Regions from separate parts of the Homo sapiens genome. Here region 2 is linked to region 1. Evidence: promoter capture Hi-C in human tissues and cell types (Jung and others, 2019). All regions are on one chromosome and are shown on one strand. Each heading gives the region's core, a stretch centred on a gene start or on the middle of the fragment in contact. The rest is flanking DNA. Distances are from core to core; before and after follow the strand shown.

Region 1 (6,741 bases), core at 2,847-5,346:
GTGGTTGGAATGCTTGAAAATGCTAGGACATTTGCATGATGTGAAAGAATGATCTTGGATCTAAGATCAAAGAGTTCAGGCACTTTGAGATTAGTAAGAAATTTGGGTCAAATGCTGAAGTAGGGCTGCTACCACTACAGTGGTTTTCTTTTAAAATTTTAACTACAATACAGAATTATCATACAGTTCTATATTATTTCATATATATAGAATTATTAAAATTTGGCTTTAAAGTGATCATATTTGTTCTGAAATGTAAGACATTTAAAATTTCTTTTATATAATCTAAATAAGATACAGGGACCAATATCTTTTTTCTCACCAGAGATCTGATCATATTCACAATACAAATTTTTGAGAAGTATCTGTACCACAACATTTTGGAATTACATATGTGTGTGTGTATATATATATATGTATATATATATACACTCAATTATATGTATATAAATATTCCATTTTATGAATCATGCCAATGTCTTTTATATGATCTACAATTATATAAATACAAATTCAATTGTCTAAGCATAATTCATCAACCCAATAATTTTCTTTAGCTGAGTCTCAGATGCTGAGACTATGCATTTAAACAGATATAATTACTATTTTTAATCAGTGATTGTAACATGAAGATCTGAATCTTTAGCTACCATAAAAGAGATTCTATACACTATTTTCTTTCATTTCTTCCCCCCAATTCACTGAAAAAAATTAGATATTTTTATTTTACCATGCTCACAAGCAAATTCAAAACACAGTGTATATTGTTCATCCTCACTCAGTCAGCACAGACTAAGTAAAATATCATCCATCTCATTAACAAGTACATTTTTCTTTTTTCAGTTGCAATCTGTGTATACTTCTTATTAATACAACTAGAAAACCATTAATTATGATTTAATTTATTCAGTTTGATACCCAAATATTTAAGAGCACGGTGTCCCTAGTGGACAGAAAATAATAAAAGGAATACTTGGTGGTAATAAACTTAGAACAAAGCCATTAAATAAAATTTATTTCTGTCTTACTGTTGTAAGTTATGTCTCACTATTACAGGATTAAGATCTTTTTAATGGCATTAAAAAATAGACTTTTAGATTTCTGCAAGGTCATTCCTCTGTTATGGGGCTTACTTGGCTCCTGAGGAAATATCAGTTGATATTGTGGGTTTGGAAAGGCTCAGTTAGCATTTCCTGTGCACTGAGTATTTAATCTATCTCTGTTTTAAACATGAGCTGAGACCCTGAGGCATCCCTCAGACTATGAGAGACAGACTTAATGGGTGACCCACTAGGAAATTTGGTGTTTAAGCAGAAAGAGACAACCATCATTTGTTACTGTGGACAGAGAGTGACTGCAAGGAGAGATTTCTAAAAATATATTTTACAAATACTCGAATGGTGCTTACCATGTACCAGCCTCTCCCATGCTCTTTACAGGCATTAATTCATTTAATTTAATCCTCACAACAATGGCTGCACCGACTAGGCTTGTTTTCTGGTACAACAGATAAAAGTCTACTCCTGGGGAGAGCTAATCAGTCTTAACAAGTACCGTGGGGGACACTTGCCGAACAAGAGAAATCAAGAGATAGGGTTAAAATTAGGGGAGAAACCGATGGCAGTCATCTATGCCAGCTAGGTTCATCTGTACAGTCTTCAGATTTCTTATAGATGAATCATCAAATTCTATAATGTTACTACTTCTCTCTCAGTTTATAGTAAACTTTCCTTTGAAAAAGCCAACCTTGCCTGAGAAGAATGGTCTACCACTAGGTCAGCAAAGGTATGGAACTCTCTTTTGACTAGTGGTATGGTGGTATTAGCTTTGTAAACAACCAGTCTAACTGATGCAAATAAAGATAAATGAACAGTGGGATTGGAGAGGGGAAAATCACAATTTTTGCTTCCTCAGCATTCATGACTTCTTTGGCTTGCATAGATTTTGTTTTTCTTTATTTTACAAATGAGTTTCCTTTTAATGTTGTTCCACTTTGCATTTCAAATTTCCCTTAAGCATCTAAAAATGTTACAAAATAGTGTCATTACCTTTCAAATTAAACATCAAATTAGCCAGAGAAGTTGAGTTGTGAGTACTCCAACAAGCAAAATATTAAAAAATGAATTTCAACTTGGTGATCCCACCTAGTGAACTAATGGGATATAAGGAACCTCTTACGTCCCAGACACCATGCTTAGCATTATGCACAGTTATCCATTTAATCTCACAGCCTTGCAAGGGGGTATTATATCCACTGTTTGAGGGCGGAGAAAACAGGCTCACACAAAGTAGTAGCTTCCAGGGGTCTCACAGTTAATATTAATGAAAGGCTTGGGCTTATACATAGGTGTTTCAGGTTCCACATTGCAAAGCATTATCTCAGGGACGATCTATGGCATGCGCATCCCGATAAAAACGTACCAAATTTATTGGCTATCAACTACAGTTCCATCTGGAAATACTCAGCAAATAATGGCAGTAAGGCATCCCGCCACTTCCTGCATGATTAGTTGAAAAAGAAACACCTGCGCACACACATTTGAACAATGTGATACAGCTAAGGACCTGGACAGTCAGCTAGCAGGAAGAAACATTTGAACGAAGGGTAGACCACGGCCTAGGAGGTGGATGAAGACACCCGTCCGTTTGCCTACTGAAGCAAGATGGGGCTGAGGCGCTCAAGGGCCTATTGGCTGCCCAGAAGCCTTTGCAGCGCCGCCTGAATACAGCGAGGATGACCCAGGGTTCACCTTCAGCGTTGAAGGCAAGTCCTGGTATAAGGGACGCACATAGGTCCGCGCCACATCCTGACACTGTTTCCACAGGAAGTGCGGGATAGGAGGGGGGATTCATTAATCCAGGTCGGAAATACACCTTGTTCCTCGAGGATTTTGGAAGGAAATTCCACCCGCGAAGTCCCCTTTTGGAGATGCCCTTTTCCTTTCAGGTACAGCATCCTTCATTATGTACCCCCAGGGTACAATGTATCCGGGGCTCGCAACGCGTCCCTCAACCCCCAGCAGCGCGGTCACCGCGGGGTCCCCGGGCGGGCGGGGGCGGCGGTGACGCAGGAGGCGGTGGGGCCCCGGTGCGGCGGGCGCGGGGAGGGGGCTGCTGGGCGCGGGCCTATCAGGACGCGCGGTGTTTCGGGCGCGGGGAGGGCGGGGACCTCCAGGTTTCCTCGGGGCCCGGCGCAGCGCCGCCTGCCGAGTTCCGAGCGAGCGCGCGAAGCGCGCAGGGGTCTCGAGACGTTCCCGCCGGTCCCGGTTTTCCTCCGCGGCTCCCCCGCCCCTTCACGTCCGCCTCTTTCTCCAACCAGACGCGGCTCCGACGGCGCTCGGCCTCTGCTCTTCCGGCTCCCCGGCTCTGCCCGCAGCGCGCGTCGCCCGGTTGCTCTTCGCCTGGTGTCCGCGGGCCCGGCGGGGGCGCCTCACCCCGGGCGCGCGGCGGTAATGCCGCTGCCGCCCTTGCGGCCAGGCAGGCAGCTGGCGGCGGCCGGAGTCGGAGCGCGTTCGTCGCTGGCCGGGACGCCGCCCTGGCCTGTGCTCAGCTCCCGCGGCGGCCGCGGGGCGCCGGGGCCCGGCGCGGCATGAGGAGGCGGCTCGGTGCAGGCGAGCGCCCAGCTCCTCGGCCCCGAGGGCCCCCGCGGGCCCCCGCGCGTGGCGCGCGCTGGTTGCGGCCCCGGCGCCCACGCTAGCCCCGCGCAGGCAGGAGACGCCGCGGCCCGGAGTAGGAGGCGGCGCAGGGCCTGCCGAGCGGACGCGGGCGGCCCGGACCTTAAGCACGGGGCTTCGCGGCGGGACCCCGCCGGGCGCGGGCAGCGGAGCCGGGCGTGCTGCAGTTAGCTGCCCCTCTCCGCAGGGGCGCCGCGGCGCGCAGCCTGCGCCTCCTCCCACCTGCAGCCCCTCCTCCCGCCGCTGCTTGGCGGAGAAAACGCTCCTCCTCGCCCTTCCCCGGCTTTCTTCCGTCCTGCCGTCCCCGGGCCCCTAGCCCCCAGTCCCCTCTCCCCCCTCCACCTCTTGTCCCTCGGCCTCCGCGCCTCCCCTCCCCCGACTCTCTGGCCTCCCATTCATTCCGTCCGCTCCCTCCCATTTCCTCTTTTCCGCTCGGGCCCTCTCCCCAGAGCCTCCCCGCGCGGACCCCGCTGCAGTCTCGGGGTTCTCAGCACATTTATGGAAGTTTAGGGCCTGGACAGTGGCCCCGAGTCCGGCCTGAGAGCGCAGCCTGGGCTGCTGGCAGGGAAGAGGAAGATGTCTGTGCTCAGGCGGATGATGCGGGTTTCCAATCGCTCTCTCCTCGCCTTCATCTTCTTCTTCTCCCTCTCTTCGTCCTGTCTGTACTTCATCTATGTGGCCCCAGGCATCGGTAAGCACCGAGACACACCCTCGCTTCCCCTGGTCACACCACAGCCAGCGCAGGCTGTTATCCGATGTTACTTCTGGGATTTGGAAGCTGTTCAAACAGGGGCCCGCAGAAAAGCGTTTTGTTTTAAATGTTATTTCAGACGTGTCAAACTGCTTCAGGGCATGGCTTTGGTATGTGAGTTTTGTTAATGCATGCATTTTGTTAATGCATGTTTGTTAATAACGTAAAAGATTGCATTAAATAGACGTAGCAAAATTAGTGTGATGGCCCGGGATGCCCTAGTCGCTTTCTTGAGTGTTCATGACAGCTTTATCCATTTAATGTTAAGTCTTTAAGCCTAAACTGAGTGCTTAATCGTAGTTTTATTCAAACACTCTCGGGTATAATAACTGGTTGTAAAAATATGGAGGAGCCAGCAGCAGGGAATGTGATTGAGTCCAACAATGTGTGTTTTCTAGGGTCCTAGGTCGCTTTTTTAGAATGGGGTCAGTGGACCCCATTCTTTTTGTGCCATACTTGGGGAATTTTAAGGCGATGAGTTGTCTTGTAAAAACAATGCTCCATTATTTTAGTCTGCTTGGGTGTTATTTTCAAGGGTACGTTGCCTTTGCTACCTGTTAGGATGACTTCTGAGAAAATAGTGATTAAAATAACCGTTATCTAAGGGAACTTGTAGTTTAAAATGTTAACCGGTTTATCATTTTTTGGCCTTTGGTGCAAAATACACTTTTGTAAAACTGCTTGAATTAACTTCTTTATTAAATATCCGAATTCCTCGTCCCCCATTTGTTGAAAAGGAGCCAATGCGGCGTTAATTCTAGTGAATGAGAATTATGAACTTCACATGCATATTAAAATATGTCATATTTCCAAAACTTTTCTGAGTTTTTCCTGGCTATTACGTATTTAATGTTCAATTACTTAGTAACAGTGAGCATCTCCTCTCATTTCTCCTTACACACTGTGGTCGTTTGAGCCAGTGCTCTTTGTTCCGAGTTAGCTAAAAATGTAATGCCCCTTACAGAGTGAAAACACCTGCAGAATTTTCAGATGGAATGATCAGGGCATTGTCTTGAGTGTAGTAGATTATTGCAGTGAATTGCAGCAGGGAAGGAAGATGGAAACCTAATCCAGACTGCTTCATTTCTTAAAATTACTATGAGACTTTTTCTTTAATAATTAATTTTTGGATTCAGTGAGGTGTATAAACTCAGATGATGATGTTTAAGAAGAAATGCATTGTGAAACGTTGACGTATCCCAAAATAGAAGTTTTAGGGTAAAGTTTGAAGAATATTTTAACATTATTGCAGTTTTCCTTTAGGCCAGAAAAAACAAAAAACCTCACAAAAACCTACCCCTTGAAGCCTATAGTACAAATGACAGTGGTAGCTTAGTGGATTTGATATTATCTAGATACTCAACAAGAGCTTTCTTTATTTTTTGCCATTTTGGAGTCTTATAAATTAACTCTTCATTCTATAGCAATTTTTACTTTCTCATGTAACTCTTTAAAAGTTTGGACATCTTTGGGGTATGTTTTTTTACTAGGAATTTAACTTTGAAAGATTTTGGAGAAAGTTTTTTTCACACTTACATAACAATTTTCCCACTTTCTTAGTATTATGAGTAACATGTTAAAGTTATATTACTCAAAAAGCTAACCAAAGGAAATCAGAATTCTAGTCATCCCTTTTTTTTTAAAGTTAGTGCGTCAGTATATTATTTGTAGATTCTTAATTCAACTTGTGTGAAACACTAATAAATTTTCCTTATTTGAATGCTTAATGTTTGCCATAGAACGGTCACTGATATAATGTAAAAATGTTGGCACGTGTCTTGTAGGCAATTAGATTGATGTGGCTTAACCTACTCTGTTTTTGTAGGTCTTATAAATGATAATAAGTTATTAAAACCAGTTAGAAGAGTGCAAACCAAAAACTTACAAAATGCTGTGAAATTGTCAAGCTGAATCTGTTTCCAAAACCCTGTACCATTTAGCCAAAAAAAGCCTCCTTTTTAATCTTTTGTATCTTTAAGTATTGGGAAGCAGTTTTCCAAAATTCAGATTTTCGCTTGAAAGTTTGAATTTTATCATTGGCAACAAATACTGTCAGTTTTTCTTGAAGTGTCAGGCTCACTTTGCTCATTTTCGAGAAAATGTAGGTCAGATGCACAAGTTTAACCATAGTTTTTCAGTTGTTCTTTCAAGTAAAAATGATGTTCCATGAAAAATGTGGCTTGTTGAGTCCATACTGCAGCAATCAATCAATTGCACAAGTGCTTCAGATTTCTTATTTATGAGACATATCCAGAAGTAATTAGGTTCTTATAACTAGTTTTTATTCGATGTATGTGGATTTTTCTTGAAATAATA
Region 2 (6,741 bases), core at 1,748-4,247, 39 kb before region 1:
TATAAATATTTGCATTGACTTAAAATTTTTTAATTGCAAAACAGTCCACTTATTTTAGTCAATTTCATATTGTTTTAGTCAACCCTACTAATACTGTCAGACTTTTCCTGTTTTTGAAATTGTCAGTAATATGTCAGAATTTTTTTTTTTTTTTTTTTTGAGACGGAGTCTCGCTCTGTCGCCCAGGCTGGAGTGCAGTGGTGCGATCTCGCTCACTGCAACCTCCGCCTCCCGGGTTCACGCCATTCTCCTGCCTCAGCCTCCCGAGTAGCTGGGACTACAGACGCCCGCCAACATGCCCGGCTGATTTTTTGTATTTTTAGTAGAGATGGGGTTTCACCGTGTTAGCCAGGATGGTCTCAATCTCCTGACCTCGTGATCCGCCCATCTCGGCCTCCCAAAGTGCTGGGATTACAGGCGTGAGCCACCACGCCCGGCCATATGTCAGAATTTTTGATCAGCAAAAAACCAATGCATCTTAATTAAAAAAAATAAATTAGAAGCAGGGCTGCGAGGACATATTCCAAGGAAGCCAGAGCTGGAGTTGGGGCCAGCTGGGCCGGTGACATGGAGCCCCTGAACCAGCAAACGCACAAGCAGGTCCATGAGATACATTCTCACATGGGACACCTGGAGACGGCAGACAAGCAGTCTGTGCACTTAGTAGAAGGTGAAATCCAAGCAAGCACAGACCAGATATTCAGCCATCTAGAACATCGGGAGATTTTGTCCAGCAAGGAGCCCCCTAATAAAAGGCAGAATGCCAAACTTCGGGTTGACCAGTTTAAGTATGATGTTCAGCACCTGCAGACTGCTCTCAGAAACTTCCAGCACTGGTGCTATGCAAGGGAGCAGCAGGAGGGACAGCAAGAAGAGCTTCTATCTCGAACCTTCACCACTAACAATTCTCAATCACAATCCTCTGACAACTATTGGAGATTATTATCTGTTTAAATTACCGGCATTACAATATCTCGACATGGAAACAACACAAGTCCCACTAACAACAATTGAGAACATCCCCATGATGACTCTTGAATTGGAAAAACTAGCTGTCAGCTTCTCAGTCTGCACAATTAATCAAGAAATAATGTGGAGCCACTGGTACAAATAATGAGGCATCTCCCAGAAGTTTAACTTCCTATCCATCCAATCTCTTGGACAGATAATACCAGTTAATTACTTTGAATGTGGCTCTAAAAGCTGAGTTGGGGGCTGCTTTATGACTGGAGATGGTTTGACCTTCTCAGGTGGCTCTGATGGCTGAGCTGGTATCTCCTGCTGCAGTGGAGGACTGACCTCTTCAGTGGACTTCGGAGGATGACCTGAGGCTTCCTGCTGGGTTGCAGATGGTTCAACCTCCTTAGGGGGCTCTGGTGGCTCATCTGGGAACTCTGCTGGACTGGAGAAGGTTCTACCTCCTTAGGGGGGTCTGGAGTCTGAGCTGGGGGCTATAATTGGGTTGAGGAAGAGCCCACCTCTTTGGAGTGTTCTGGAGGCTGAGCTGGGGCCTGTTCCTGGCTTGTTGTAAGTTTCTTACCTGGCTCTGGAGTTACCGTAAGCTCCACGTCCACAGGTTTGATTGTGACACTGGGCAAGTGTGAGTGCTGAACTTCACTCCAACTTTTCAATGGAACATTTACCTCATGATGTATCAATAGTGGGGCTAGGATCTCTTCAAAGGCAGGTAGCTGCTGTGCTGGAGCCTTCTGCTCTGTTGAAGAGTGGACCCCCTCAAGGGACTGTGAAGGCAGAGCTGGGGCCTCCAGCTTTGGTTGAAGAAAGTTCTACCACCTCAGGGAGCTGTGGAAGCTGCGCTGCAGCTTCTTGCTGGAGTAGAGGACTGGATCTCTTCAGTGGTTTCTGGATTTTGAGTTTCAGGCTCTAGATGGAACTGAGAAAGTCCAGCTTGCTCAGGAGGCCCTGGAGGCTCATCTGAGCTCACCTGGAGTTCTGGAGGCAGGCTGCCCAGATACAGTATATCCATACTTGAATCTAAATACCCATTCTGCAGAGTTTGTTTCTGACGCTGAGGTTTTGATACAAATCGGTATGGAGTTCCAACAACAACCTTGGCAAGCCTTTGATGCTGAGCTAGATCTTTCTTCCGGTTCTTGGGCGAAACAGTAAAGTTCCTTGCTTTTGATTTCTATCTAGAGGTGGAACAAGTATTTCATATGCCTGATGATCTGCAGCCTGATCTAGATCTACAGTTAGAAACTTACTTTTGAGGCAAAGAGGCCGAGCTAGGGCCTGGTTCTGATCCCAGTCTAGCATTGCAACCACCTCTGGGAGACTTCTGTGCCGAGTCAGCTTGTCATTCAGATCCCAGTGTGCAGCAGCGAACTGCTCTGGCCCCGGGGCAGCTCTCCAGCTGAATCCGTGTCCAAGAATGGAACCAAACTCTGAGCCAAAGTCTCAGTCGATTCCTGAAGCGGAGCTGACGTCTGGGAGGAAGCAGAAGACCCCAGGTAATCAAAGCTCTCCCGGGTCTGCCCGGGGGTGGGGAGTTAGCTCATGGCGGCGATTCGCGTGGGAGATCGGAGGAGCGGGAAGACCAGGGCTAAGTTGGCCCCAGGGAGTCAGAGGTCAGCTGGAGCGGGTCCTGGACCCACTCCAGAGGCTAAGCCGCCTGGACTAGTAGCCACAATAGTTGCCATGTGAGGAGGGGCCCGTGGGGCCCAGAGACGCAGCCGGGACAAGACAAGCGCTGGCGCCGCGCACTGAGCAGGAGCCATTAGGGCAGCCCCGAGACGCTGGCGCCCCTGGCAACCGCGCGCCCCATCCCGTCCTTTATTAACTACACCTTTATTTACGCAGCCTTTATTAGGCTCGGGTCCAGATCCGCTCCGCGTCACCAGGGCAATCTTATCCCACAATCCAGCCCAAACCTCCCTTCCGCCCTGCCCGGCCGGAACACCCCTCCCCTCCCCTCTGCGAGGAAGAATTTGGGCCGCGGGGTCTGCGGTCCCAAGACTCCAGCAGCCTGGTGGGGTGGGGTGGGGTGGGGTGGGTTGGAGGTGCGGCAGAGCTTCCCAAGGAAGTTATGGGACCTTGCCTCGGGATATTCAGAAGTGCCAGTCCAGTTCTGGCAGCCTGAACTCTTCCTCCTCCAAGCTGAAATCCGAGAGATGCTTTTCCTCCTCTTGGCCATAGGGAAAGCAACTGACCTGCAAAATGTGCGCCAGTTAGGGTGGCAGGCAGAGCACACATTACGGTCATTTATTCCAAAATGTTGCCATTTTCGCCAAACCTTTGATATCCTTTGTTGCATGTTTGGTAATTAATTCACCACCCTATTAGGCAGGGGCTGCCGGGGAATAAACGAGGACTCCAAATTTTCTGTAGGAGGGGTTTTGGGGGGTGAGCAATTCAGTCTGGGAGAGAGAAGGCCTTTAATCCTAGTGAATAGCTCTTTGCACTAGCCTGGGAGGAAGCTGAACTGTCATCCTGCCTTGACTTAACACAGCCTTTACCCTAGAAGCTACAGCGCCACTCTTCAGAGGTCTACCCTGTGTGCACACAGGGAGAAGACGCTTAGGTTGTTAAAGTCAGCATGTTAAATAATTTTCTGAAATGCGACTATAACTAGAACCCAGCTGACTTCCCCCATAGCCATTCTTACCTATCTTATTACTGATTGTCTGGTACAATCACAAAGTGCGGTGGTACTGACACCTACCTTTTAGGGTTGTTTGAGGATTTCATGGGATAATGAATGTAGACTGCTTTGCAAACAGTGAGCTTTCAATAAAAGGGATCTATTATAAAACAATAATTAAAAAAGAAATTAGAAGCCAATAAGAAAAACATTAACATTGTGTGATGGTGGAAATATGTATGCTATATTGCTAAATTATATGTTTAAATTTCAAAAAATTAAATAGTTCAAAAATGTAGTTTTCATATTTCATTATTCAGCTGCAGCCTGCAGTGAAAACATGTCTTTTCTGTACATTTTGAGTATGCCAAGATTTAAAATCCAACCTCATGATTAGTATGTAATTCATTTATATGTCAGAGGCTACACTCATAAACGTGAATAATCATTCCCAACTTCCTTTTCTAGCTGATATTTTTTGACCCAAATTGAGTAATAAAGAGGTCTTGGTATTTCATTAGTGATTGAAGACCTCAAATTCTCTTTTATTGTGTGTGATTCTGCCACTAAGAACGGGATCATAGTAGCGCTGTGGTTTATTCAAGTTCTGATTCTTCCCACCGTGATAGCCACTGACTGCCAACATTACCGGAACCACTGTTGCCAGATGAAATGAAGGCAAGTAGGCAGAGGAAAACCATCCTGTGAGCACCCACTTCAGGCCTGTGCTCCTAGGCTAAGCTGAGCCTGCTGATGAGGGAGTCACAGAGACGTTCATCTCAAGCACTTCTCAAAGCCGCCTCTAGGGGGCAGAACAATCACAAACCTGAGAGCACTACTGAGGAAGACTCATTGTAATGTGAGCAGCCACCCAGGATTCTGCATCCTTTCCTTATAAATGTTATGTGGTGTGCCTTTTAATTCCACTCACAATTGATTTGTTTTCATGATATATGGTACCAAGCTCTAAAGTTACAAAAATATATTCTTATTCTCCAGAATCAATATTACCCAATATTACCAATTCCTTATGTATTCTTCCAGAGAATACGTGTGTATGTGTGTGTGTGTTGTGTATACAATACCCTTGCTCCTTCCTCCTTCTATATGAATGGTAGTATCCATATACTCAATTCTGTATCTTGGTTTCACTTAATATTATCTTGGATGAGATTCTATAAAAGAATACAGGAAGCTTTTTTTTGTTTATGGTTGCAAATTATTCTAGCTATGTGTATACCATAATTTTTAAATACTTCAGTAAAGGGCATTTAATTATTTCTTCAGTACTACAGAATCTTGTGTATGCATAATTTCACTTATGCATGAGTACATCTGAGGGTGGAATTCCTAGTGTAGAATTCCTAGTTCGAAGGGTATGTGAGTTTGCAACTTGATAGATACTGCCAAGTGTATCAATCAGGGCTCTCCAGAGAAACAGAACCCACATACACACATACACACACACACACATACACACACAGAGAGAGAGAGAGAGAGAGAAAGAAAGAGAATTGGCTTACACAATTGTGAGGGATGATAAATCTGAAATCTGTAAGGCAGGATGCCAAGTTAGAAACTCAGGCAAGAGTTATTGTTGTAGTCTTGAGTCTGAAATTTGTAGGGCAGGCTAGCAGGCTGGAACTCAGGAAAGACACCTATGTTTCAGCCTGGAGGTAAATTCCTTCTACTCTGGGAAACCTTCGTCTTTGTTCTTAAGACCTTTAACTGATTGGATAAGACCTATCGACATTATCAAGGGTAGCCTGCTTTACTTAGCGTCAACTGCTTAAAGATGTTAACCACATCTACAAAATATCTTCATGGCAATGCCTAGACTAGTGTTTAACCAGACAACTGCACACCCTTGCCTAGTCAAGTTGACACACATTATTTTTTTTGTAAGTTTTTATTTTTTACAGTTTTGATTCATGATGGTTTATAATGTATATGTTAGGCATTCTACTATGGAAATGTAACACAGATGTTTAACATGAAGTTGCTGACATCCACTTTTGTTGGTTTTTTTTTATACTTTAAGTTCTAGGGTACATGTGCACAACGTGCAGGTTTGATGCATAGGTATACATGTGCCATGTTGGCTTGCTTCACCCATCAACTCGTCATTTATATTAGGTATTTCTCCTAATGCTATCCCCCACCCAGCCCCCCACCCCCCGACAGGCCCCGGTGGACATACGCTGTTACAAAGACTTTCTGAAGGACTCTCATGCACATACGCCTGTAACAAGAACTTCTGCCAAGAACTTCCTAAAGTGCAGCTTGCTACATGAGTCACAAGGACAGCAAGCAGAATGCACAAGAACACTTGCCTGACACACTGTCTCCACGAATGAACCAGTGTCAACTCCTGTGATGATCCCCTGTAACCAACATTCTCTGTTTGAAAACAAATGATGTATACTTCTCCCTTTTGCCTTTAAACACTTCCCCCTGCCTCAGCCACTTTGGATGTGCCTACGGTCTCCAAAGCCTGCATATCCCAGATTTGCAAATCTTCTGTGCACACCCAAATAAGCTTATTATCTTTGAAGGGTCTCTTTCTGTTTGTTATTTAGCTTGACAGGCCTAACTCTGGTCATGAGGACCCTATGGCACGGGTGGTGAGCAGGGTGACACACATGCCAAGGTGAGCAGGGTGACACACGTGCCAATTCACATTATTTCATTCCATTTCAATCCACACAGTCTCATTCAGGTCAATGTTCCATCTTCAAATTTCTTTCCCCCGTTCAAGGGGCCTCTTGGGGACAGGGAATTGAGGGACCTCTACTCCACATGGGTGGGCGTCAGTCCTTTTGGGAACTCCCTGGTTCCTGCTCCAGGTCTGGTGTCCTTTGAAGCGCTACTGATTAGTTGTACCTTGTGGTGTTGGATATCACGATGGCACCCATAGCTGAAGTCCTGCCATTTGCCCACAATTTTGCAGTCCTTGACATCTCTCCAGCCCAGGCCTCAGGGAGCCTGCTGGTAATCTCAGCACCTCTTTGCCCCTTCCCAGGGAACACACCAGTGTCTGGATCCACAGCACACTCTGCTCAGAAGTGAGGGACTAGGAGCGGTATTTCAGGTTCATCCACCTGTCTTTCTTCTTATTGAAACCACCTTTGCAAAATTAC

The links. Contacts are between HindIII fragments. The study calls those that stand out against the background at their distance.
Region 2: a contact is called between a fragment that was not itself captured here and the fragment with the promoter of B4GALT6 in region 1, in 3 of the 25 tissues and cell types used here (adrenal gland, hippocampus and liver).

The regions. Positions count from the first base shown.
Region 1 is chr18:31,681,936-31,688,676 of GRCh38, reverse strand. B4GALT6 (beta-1,4-galactosyltransferase 6) reads left to right here and starts at 4,096. Exons shown (of 9, transcript NM_004775.5): 1 at 4,096-4,365. The coding sequence starts at 4,251. RefSeq lists a silencer at 2,960-3,999. The HindIII fragment of the contact is 7,513 bases long and covers 2,376-6,741 here.
Region 2 is chr18:31,720,224-31,726,964 of GRCh38, reverse strand. It overlaps a transcript of B4GALT6 not described here, the pseudogene LRRC37A7P and the pseudogene LOC390846. Among named protein-coding and RNA genes, the nearest start is that of SLC25A52, 37 kb to the left of the region's middle. RefSeq lists enhancers at 2,048-2,547, 2,514-2,613, 1,843-3,042. The HindIII fragment of the contact is 7,678 bases long and covers 1-6,741 here.